Regions from separate parts of the Homo sapiens genome. Here region 2 is linked to region 1. Evidence: promoter capture Hi-C in human tissues and cell types (Jung and others, 2019). All regions are on one chromosome and are shown on one strand. The core of a region is centred on a gene start or on the middle of the fragment in contact, and the rest is flanking DNA. Distances in the headings are between cores, read along the strand shown. Region 1 holds the start of IRF9 (interferon regulatory factor 9). Region 2 holds the start of DHRS4 (dehydrogenase/reductase 4).

The links. Contacts are between HindIII fragments. The study calls those that stand out against the background at their distance.
Region 2: the fragment with the promoter of DHRS4 here is called in contact with the fragment with the promoter of IRF9 in region 1 in 2 of the 25 tissues and cell types used here (neural progenitor cells and thymus).

What each region holds. Positions count from the first base shown.
Region 1 is chr14:24,160,015-24,165,076 of GRCh38, forward strand. IRF9 (interferon regulatory factor 9) reads left to right here and starts at 1,251. Exons shown (of 9, transcript NM_006084.5): 1 at 1,251-1,324; 2 at 2,130-2,310; 3 at 2,952-3,135; 4 at 3,364-3,494; 5 at 3,864-3,945; 6 at 4,049-4,120; 7 at 4,600-4,941. The coding sequence starts at 2,131. It overlaps RNF31 (ring finger protein 31), which reads left to right. Exons shown (of 21, transcript NM_017999.5): 20 at 225-393; 21 at 506-641. The coding sequence ends at 559. RefSeq lists enhancers at 978-1,367, 2,357-2,416. The HindIII fragment of the contact is 9,939 bases long and covers 1-5,062 here.
Region 2 is chr14:23,950,690-23,955,751 of GRCh38, forward strand. DHRS4 (dehydrogenase/reductase 4) reads left to right here and starts at 3,081. Exons shown (of 8, transcript NM_021004.4): 1 at 3,081-3,227; 2 at 4,346-4,523. The coding sequence starts at 3,100. DHRS4-AS1 (DHRS4 antisense RNA 1) reads right to left here and starts at 4,423. Exons shown (of 2, transcript NR_023922.2): 1 at 4,059-4,423. RefSeq lists enhancers at 2,603-2,802, 3,413-3,542, 3,593-3,722. The HindIII fragment of the contact is 7,990 bases long and covers 1-5,062 here.

The DNA of each region.
Region 1 (5,062 bases), core at 1-2,500:
GGCATGCCCAGGCAGTAAAATGGGTCCTTGGGAGCAGTAGGTCTTGCAGTGGGTGGGAGGGAGGAGGCTTTCTGGGCAAGGGCATGGGTAGATAGTAGCAGGCAGTGTGGGCACAGGTGGGTTGTTAATCTTGTTCGTCCAGGTGTCTCAGAGTCCAGCTATGTTAGACACACTCAGTTAATATTAGCCAACACAACAAATATTCTGCTCCCTTTTCTCCCCAGGGCACACTACAAAGAGTATCTTGTGAGCCTCATCAATGCCCACTCGCTGGACCCAGCCACCTTGTATGAGGTGGAAGAGCTGGAGACGGCCACTGAGCGCTACCTGCACGTACGCCCCCAGCCTTTGGCTGGAGAGGATCCCCCTGCTTACCAGGCCCGCTTGTTACAGGTATAGCCTCCACCCAGCCTCATCTCTTAACCCACCCTACAGAAGTCACCTGGTGCTGACTGTGTCTGAGCTCCAGGCTTCCAATATCATTACCTTCTCTCTCCTTCTGCAGAAGCTGACAGAAGAGGTACCCTTGGGACAGAGTATCCCCCGCAGGCGGAAGTAGCTGAGGGCAAGGGTCCCGATGAGGGTCCCATGGCCTGCTCCCTCAGGAACAGCTCCAGCACCAATAAAGAGGCATCTTACCACCCAGGCTTCTTGGTGGTCCTTCTTCCTGGTGCCACCATCTAGGGGCACCAGGGAAAGAGCGGGGTGAACAGAGCTTTGCTGAAAAGGGCCCCCTGCAACCTAGTGCCTGACCCTCCCTGGACTCAGGACCAGGAAGGAGTTGACACCCTGGATGGTCAAGGGAGGCCCTCCCCATCCAGCAGCCTGGCCTGGGCTTCCTCCCTCCCTGCCTCCTTTTTTCCTTTCATAGAATTTGACTGGTATTTGAAGTCACCCAATATGTATCAGGTGGGCACTGTGGGGGAATGCAGATGCACAGGTGTACACAGCAGTCCAGAGGTCCCAGGCCTGACTCCAGGAAACTGGCCTCCCTGGGGAAGCCACGGTGTCACCCAGAGGTCAGATAGAAGCAAGAGTATCTGAGGGAGGCAGGGGAATGAGCCAGGCTGGAGCTGAGCCAGCAGGGCAGGGCCCCCCTGCTGCGACAGTGGCATCCTGATAGTGAGATGCTCAGATGCTGCTGCCCTCTAGTGGCCGCCAGTTCCCTGCAACTCAGACCACGTGATTTCTGGGAAAAGGCCCTCCCTGGAGGAGAACTGAAACTTAGGGTGGGGACTGTAGAAAGGGGCGGAGAGATCAGCCGCCCAGCCAGGAGTTAAGCTGAGGTCGTCTGAGCCCTGCGACAGCCTGGACAGCAACTCAGGTAAGATCAGCCAAGGATGGGAGTCAGCCTGGGATCTAGGGCTAGAAAGTCCAGCCAGATTGAGGGCAGGGGGTCCTAGGGGTCGCTCTGTTAGACTGAGGGATAGACAGAAGATCTCTTAAGTCAGGAAGTGGGAGATTCAGCCTGAGAGTGAGACTGACAAGGGCCAGCTCCCCAGACCCTTGTAGGCAAAGGTCAGGAGGACCTACTGCTGGATTGTTCAAGGAAGAAGGCTCCTGGCCCCAGCCTCAGTGGACCATTTGTTTCCTTGCCATCTGGCCCTGCCCACTTCTGCTGCAGCTCCAACCCCACCCCTACTTCCTGCCCCACCTACTCCTGGGGCCGGCAGGGGGTGGGGGTCAGGCTAGGTTGTGTAGGCTGTGGGGCGGTGGGTGAAGAGCCTGATGGATCTCAGCAGAACCTACCTCTGCTGATGCTCGGGAATCTAGACAGGGCCTGTCACCAGGAACGATCACCAAAGGAATTCTTTTGTAAACAATACATCTCTGAAAAGTCCTAAAATTAAGACCAGTGCCCAAGGTTTCCTTCCAGGTATCACAGCTTAGAGTGCTAAAAACAATGTTTTGGGGGGTTTTGTTGTTGTTGTTGTTGTTTGTCACTGCTAGTGATGGCAGAAAGGAAACAATTCTGTCCCATAGAGTGTTGAAATGTGTTTGGAGCTAAAAGAAGATGGATGGGATCTCTGGGACCTGTTGCCAGAATCTAGTCTCAATGGCCAGGGTCTCAGGAGATGTTCCCTCCCAAAGTGTCAGTTCTGATGCATCCTGCTCCTATTATCCCCCAGGATGGCATCAGGCAGGGCACGCTGCACCCGAAAACTCCGGAACTGGGTGGTGGAGCAAGTGGAGAGTGGGCAGTTTCCCGGAGTGTGCTGGGATGATACAGCTAAGACCATGTTCCGGATTCCCTGGAAACATGCAGGCAAGCAGGACTTCCGGGAGGACCAGGATGCTGCCTTCTTCAAGGTGAAAGGGCCTGGAAACCACTGTTCCTCTGTGTGTGGGATGGTGTATACACACTGGTACACTCATCCTCGAGCACTTGCGTCTGCCTGGGTTTCAGATAAGGGACAGATTGGAGAGGAAAACTAGCTGCATCATTTGCAGAGTCCAGTACAAAATGAAAATGTGGAGGCCTTGTTCAAAAATTTTAGGGATATTGGCCAGGCACGGTGGCTCACGCCTGTAATCCCAGCACTTCGGGAGGCCAAGGTGGGTGGATCACGAGGTCAAGAGATCAAGACCAGCCTGGCCAACATGGTGAAACCCTGTCTCTACTAAAAATACAAAACTTAGCTGGGCCTAGCGGTGCATGCCTGTAGTCCCAGCTACTCGGGAGACTGAGGCAGGAGAATCGCTTGAACCAGGGAGGTGGAGTTGTAGTGAGTCGAGATCGCACCACTGCACTCCAGCCTGGTGACAGAGTGAGACTCTGTCTCAAAAAAAAAAAAAAAAAATTTCCAAGGATTTCAAGATGGCAACGCAGAGCACAGACCCTGCATAATCCCTTCTGAGCTCAGAGCTGCACGCCTGTAAAGCCAGTCCTATTGGAGGGGCAGGTGGAGCCTGTAACACACTGCCTCTTCTTCCCTTGCTTTCTTTCCTAGGCCTGGGCAATATTTAAGGGAAAGTATAAGGAGGGGGACACAGGAGGTCCAGCTGTCTGGAAGACTCGCCTGCGCTGTGCACTCAACAAGAGTTCTGAATTTAAGGAGGTTCCTGAGAGGGGCCGCATGGATGTTGCTGAGCCCTACAAGGTGTATCAGTTGCTGCCACCAGGAATCGTCTCTGGTGAGTTTCCCCTTGTCCAACCACTGCTAGACTCAGCAGACTGGGGAGGAAGGATAGATGTGCAGGCTTCCCCCAGGCTTATAGCTCTGCCCTGTCCATGCCCTTGGGGGGCTGCAACCCAGGTTTCCCTTCCTAGACCTGCCCATCCTTCACTGCCTCAGACCTCTCCTTCACCCTCTGTCCTTGCTCAAGACCCTGACCTTTCTCTGTCCCTCAACAATTCCACAGGCCAGCCAGGGACTCAGAAAGTACCATCAAAGCGACAGCACAGTTCTGTGTCCTCTGAGAGGAAGGAGGAAGAGGATGCCATGCAGAACTGCACACTCAGTCCCTCTGTGCTCCAGGACTCCCTCAATAATGTAAGAGATGGAGAGGGAACTGGGTGGGCCTAAGGGCAGGACAGTAACCAGAGGGAGAGGTGGGCCAATGAAAGACACTGTGTCTTGGGAGGCCGAGGCTGGCAGATCACGTGAGGTCAGAAGTTCGAAACCAGCCTCGACCAACATGGTGAGAACCCGTCTCTACTAAAAATACAAAAATTAGCTGTGCGTTGTGGCATCTGCCTGTAATCCCAGCTACTCAGGAGGCCGAGGCAGGAGAATCGCTTGAACCGGGGGGCGGAGATAGCAGTGAGCCGAGATCGCGCCACTGCACTCCAGCCTGGGCAACAAGAGTGAAACTCTGTCTCAAAAAAAGAGAAAAAAAATAAAAAGACACTGTGTCCGCAGGAGGAGGAGGGGGCCAGTGGGGGAGCAGTCCATTCAGACATTGGGAGCAGCAGCAGCAGCAGCAGCCCTGAGCCACAGGAAGGTACCACCTGCCCTGCCTCTTGTGTCGTCCCCCATGCCACACCCTCTGGCCCAAGACTCCCCAGTCCCACTCTGAATGACCAGTGCCTTTGCTTCCCTTCCAGTTACAGACACAACTGAGGCCCCCTTTCAAGGGGATCAGAGGTCCCTGGAGTTTCTGCTTCCTCCAGAGCCAGGTACGTGGCATTTCTGACTTTCTCCTGTGCCCTGTGCCCCTGAGGTCTTCCACCTTTGACTATGCATGCATTATCTAGTCAGTCAGGGCTTACAGCAAACTGTACCCACATTACCATAGCCCTAGGCAGTGGTTTCTAGGTGGCGAGAATTCCATATGCCTGGCCAGACTCCAAAAAGCTTGCTTCCCAAAAATACCACCCTATACACTCTCCTGGAAATCTACATTGAGACATTGATTTCATTGGGCCAAACAGAGGCCCAATCTCAAGGGACCTTCTAGTAAACTACAAGCCCCTGGGCATTGAGCCCTGAGGCCTCATGGTGAATCACATACTAGCTACTTGCCTCAGTGATAGGAAAACCTGAGAGGAAGCCCCCTGGCTGGTGTGGGGAGGGGAGGTGGAGTTGTTCCCCTGGGGAGGGGCTGCTGCCAGCCTGCATGCTCCTCCAGCACCAGGTAGGGCTGTTCTATCCCCAGACTACTCACTGCTGCTCACCTTCATCTACAACGGGCGCGTGGTGGGCGAGGCCCAGGTGCAAAGCCTGGATTGCCGCCTTGTGGCTGAGCCCTCAGGCTCTGAGAGCAGCATGGAGCAGGTGCTGTTCCCCAAGCCTGGCCCACTGGAGCCCACGCAGCGCCTGCTGAGCCAGCTTGAGAGGGGCATCCTAGTGGCCAGCAACCCCCGAGGCCTCTTCGTGCAGCGCCTTTGCCCCATCCCCATCTCCTGGAATGCACCCCAGGCTCCACCTGGGCCAGGCCCGCATCTGCTGCCCAGCAACGAGTGCGTGGAGCTCTTCAGAACCGCCTACTTCTGCAGAGGTGAGGCTGTTCTCTCTGGGCACATGAGCTTCCACCCCCTACCTCTTAGTACCCCCTGGGCCCAACTTGTTGGGTCCTGCTACCTCCCTATCTGCCAGCAGATCCTCCATGTAGCCTATGC
Region 2 (5,062 bases), core at 1,831-4,330, 210 kb before region 1:
AGAAGTGAGTTTGCCCACATTCTGCATTCATGATAAACAGTTTGCTGTTAGATCATACAGCCTTCAGTGGAATGCTGAGTTGGTCACGACCCTCAGGCCTTTGGCTCCCTACATTAAAACACCCATTTCACCAGACTAAAAATATTCAATAAAATTTATAAAAAGCACTTAACGCTTGCCAGCATTTAGTAAGGAAGTGCTCAATAAATACTGTTAACACTCTTACTATTACTTTCTCTGCTTGGTAGTTGTCCTAACCCCACACCAGCCCTCCCACATTGCCTAATTCTGACTTGTGTCAGTGATGCAGGACTCGACTCAATCTAGGACAGCTATTGCAAAACGCAAGACTTAAATTCCACCCCAGGTGAAATCTCTTCTGGACCGCAGGCAGCCCTTGAAAAGGATGGGAGTAGTGCCCTCACTCATGAAGGCATTTGTCCCTCAAGATAGGCAGATGTTACCACCTCCATGTAAGAACAATCCCATTGCCTGTTACAGTTCCCATTTCAAAGAGATACTCCCACATATGCATGTATTTCCCTGAAAGATTTCCCGTTATTTATTTATTTATTTATTTATTTATTTATTTATTTATTTAGATGGAGTCTTTCATTCTGCTGCCCAGGCTGGAGTGCAATGGCATGATTTTGGCTCACTGCAACCTCTGCCTCCCACGTTCAAGCAATTCTCCTGCCACAGCCTCCTGAGTAGCTGGGATTACAGGCACATGCCACCAGGCCCGGCTGGTTTTTGTATTTTTAGTAGAGATGAGGTTTCACCATGTTGGCCAGGCTGATCTCGAACTTCTGACCACGCCCAGCTAATTTTCGTATTGTTAGTAAAGAGGATTACAGGTGTGAGCCACCATGCCCAGCCCAAGATTTCCTGTTCTTATCTCCAATAAGCGAGCTTGATGAGGAGTAGTGCTAGAGAGTCCCATACTTCTTGACTTCCTTCCATCCTTTTCTGCTCACAGGCCCCCTCCCTAATGTCCCCTGTGCTCTCCACAAAAGAAATAGTGCTAGAGGCCAAATAGCAACCCTGCCCACACAAGGAAGGGCCATGTAATGTTCACCAAGCACCCAAGCCACAATTCTCTCTTCCCAGAATCCTTTGCTCTTTGAAGTGTAGTCTTCCTCACCTTCCTGCCAACCTCAGCCCCTGAGTCCACCTGTCTACCTCTGAAGAGAAGGGAAAGAGAGATCAAACGCCCCCTGCAGGCCTGTCCCTTTGAACCAAGCCCTGAGAACCCCCGCAGCCGTCCTCCTGTGTACCCTCCCCCAGCCGCACACACAGATGGAGAGCCCTGGGAAGGGTTCCCACAGTGCGTTAGCTCCAAACAGTGCAAGAGGACAAGCAGTGTGGCGCTTCCAGCCTCTGTCAATAATTCATGAGGCTCAGACTGAGGAGCACCAGTCAGAGTCAGCCTTCCCTGGACATGGGGAAAATTATACTGAAGCTCTCCTGTCTCATCGGGATCTGCTGAGTAGCAAAGCAGAGTATTGCAGCTGTAACTTCTTGGCTGAGGAAAACACTAGAATTCCAGTGCAGGCCGTTCTATTACTTGCTCACCATACACCCCCTTTTGAATGTTGAAACCCTTTTTCAGCTGCTCAGCTTACCTGCACATATACTAAATGAATCTTGAGCAAACATGAATTCTATTCAAAAGTCATGCCTAGAACTGGATTTCACAAACCAGGATTCTTTCCCCTTTAATTGTAGGGACTGGCATAAGGCTGCCAAACTGGTGATTTCACCAATAACACATCTCTAAACCTACCCATCTGCTTTCATCATCTTTTCTAAAAGAAAACACTAACACACACACACACACACAAAAAGAAGCAAACGTATACTCCACAATAAAGGACTGTTAAATAAGCTTAGCTTTATGAAACTCACTGTAATTGTTTCCTTTTCTCATTTTGCCTTGAACTAGTGAAAACGCTGCCATGAACCAGCACTGCTTCTCAGTCTGGCTTTGGAGGCCAGTGGGTTAAACCAATTCAGATGCTTGCATTTGGGTCTGTTGGGGCCTTTCTACACTGTACCATAAGCCATCCAGATTTCTTCATTCTCCCGGAAACCCAGGAGGGAGATCATTTCAGCCCACTTGGCAGAAGTGCAGACTGAAGTCTTGGACACAGAATTTATAGCTGGCAAGGACTTTATTCATCATCCATACCCTCAGTAATTTACAGATGAAGAGTCTGGCCCAGGGCACCAATAATAATCACTACATGGTGGCAGTAACTACTATGTGCTTAGTAGCTTACAGTTCATAAAGAGATTTTGCATTCAACAAATATTTATTGAACTAAGATGGCGGCTAAGACCTGGGGACAGAGTGGTTAGGGAGAACTTGAGTGCCCCGAGTTCTTTGCATTTCCACCACTGCTTGAGGGACTGTCCAGCCTCCTCGCTACCACTTAGCCCCTGTAAAGGAGGAAGTCCCTTTGTCAACGGACATGAGAATGCTGTTTGGCCAATGACCATAGTCTGCCCTCCAGGGCCCGTGAAGATGGAAGAGACCTTGGGCAGAGTGAAGGGCAGTGCCAGGCCTGGCGCAGCTACTCCCTATCACGTCTCTCTCCCAGGCTCTTCCAGCCTCACCTGGTGGACTCCATGGCGACCACAGGCCTCACCTCCATGGGCAGTCTCAAAACATTTGCCCTCCTGTGGGCTGTCACACACATAGACCCAGACTTTCTTGGAGAAGGAATTCTGAAGAAGCAAAAGCAACCAACTCAAAACCCCCACTTCCCAGAGAAGAAAAGGTGGGCAAGCAGATGCAGAAAGGCAGCAGCCAAAGCCTGCGGGTTCCTGCAAGGGCCAGGGGAGGGGCGAGCCCTACAGGCAACTTGAACGGAGAGCTCACCCGCCAGCCCGGAAAGGCAAGCCCCAGTCAGGCGGAAGGTAGATGGTGGAGGGGCGCCGCGGCGGATGGAGGTGCCCAGGGCCACAGACCGCTCACAGCGGTACCGGGGCGGGGAGCAGGGCGGGCAGGGAATCGGCCCGCCCTTCGTCCTGCCCCTCGCCCTACTCTGTCACCGCCCCTGGGAAGAGTGGAACCCATACTTGCTGGTCTGATCCATGCACAAGGCGGGGCTGCTAGGCCTCTGTGCCCGGGCTTGGAATTCGGTGCGGATGGCCAGCTCCGGGATGACCCGCCGGGACCCGCTCGCAAATAAGGTGGCCCTGGTAACGGCCTCCACCGACGGGTGAGTGCTCCGGCCGGAGTTTCTGAGGCCCTGGCTGCCTGGAAACAGGCACTGGCCTCTCATCCTCGGCCTCCGGTGCCCCTGTCCTCAGACCTTACACGCTGCCAAAGTCTGGCCCTGGAAAAAAGGTAGCCACGTGGTCCGCCTGAAGCCACTCCGAATCCCCTAGCCCTGGACCCTCCCTTGCCAGCCCTCCTGTCCCTGCTACCTCTGGCACAACTGTGCCACCTCTGTGCAGCCCTATCGATCTAGTCTCCCCAGTGTTCTGGGCTGCCCCAGTCAACCAGCGCCACCTAGCGTCTGGGAAGACCAGAAACTGGAAATCCAAGGAAATCTGGATTTCAAAATACTATCCCACGGCCTCCAGCACTTTGAAAATGTACCAGACATTCTATTTGGGCACCGGAAAGTCCCCCGGAACCCCTCCCCCTTACCTAGATGGGACACCAGAGCCATATGTCGAGATTTTTGTTTAGGTCGGTACATCTGGGCCGACCTTGCCCAGCCTGTTTCTCACCCACCATTCTTGTCTATCCTGGTCCTCATTTCTACAGGACTTTGCTAGATGCCAGCTCTTCACAAAACTAAAATACAAATGTAGGTAAAATGCTAATAGCTGACAAATGCAAAATGTGTAACTCTTCCTCCCAAGGCAATATTTACATTTTTGACCGGAGACCATCTTTTCACATGCACCCCAAAAAATAACTAAGGATAGAATTTTGAGAATGATGTAGACGAGTAAGAAAGAAACCTGGGGGCAGGGCTGTTCTGAGTGAGACCCTCAAATCACGGAAGTGGCTGCTGCTGCAAACCCAGCTCATTTCTCACCTCTCAGTCCCAAGAGGGGATGAAGCCTGTCACCCATGGTGGGAACTGTAGAAAGTGATGTCAGTTCTTGGGAACTGAGGCTGTGGTCCAGGTCATAATAAAAACAAGTAAAGGAATGCCAAAAATGGCCATGCCATTAAGCCTGTTTTACACATAGTAGGCACACGTAGGGGTTATATAGAGAAAGAGCCAGAATTCAAACCCGGGCAGTCTTAACTTCAGAGCTCATACTGTCGACCTCTTCCCCTGCACAGGCCTTAGCAGTCTTTGTCTCTTTCTGCTCACAGGATCGGCTTCGCCATCGCCCGGCGTTTGGCCCAGGACGGGGCCCATGTGGTCGTCAGCAGCCGGAAGCAGCAGAATGTGGACCAGGCGGTGGCCACGCTGCAGGGGGAGGGGCTGAGCGTGACGGGCACCGTGTGCCATGTGGGGAAGGCGGAGGACCGGGAGCGGCTGGTGGCCACGGTGAGCTGCAGGGAAATGGGCACAGAGCCAGGAGGTGGAAAACGGAGCCAGCCTGAGCCTCCTTCCCTGCTTTCCTAGACAGCAGCACATTTTTACTGTGTGCCTTTCTATTATGTCCATATACTAACGTCAGAGAATCATCCCATCTCAGTCAGAGAATTTTAAAACATTCTAATGCTTCAACCCTGCATCATCCCTTGAGTACCCCAAAGAAACAGCTGGTACTGGTTCTGCAGTAATTTTCAATCTAATTGAACAGATGTGAAGGGTAAATACAATCACAAAATACATGTTCCCACCCATGAGTTAATAAACATTCCCCTCTTCTTCAGCTTATAGAGTCAAGTCCCTGGGAACCTCAGGAAGCAGCCCACCATGTTTCAGCCACTTACTATGTGCCATTTCCTGTGTTCAGAGCCTTACACAGGTTATCTCTAGACCTGACAACAACCCAAGCAAGGCAAGGACTATTCTCTCAGTCTGCAGACCCTGGCTCAGATAGCTGGAGCAACTTCCCAAGGTCCCACAGCCAGTAAGGA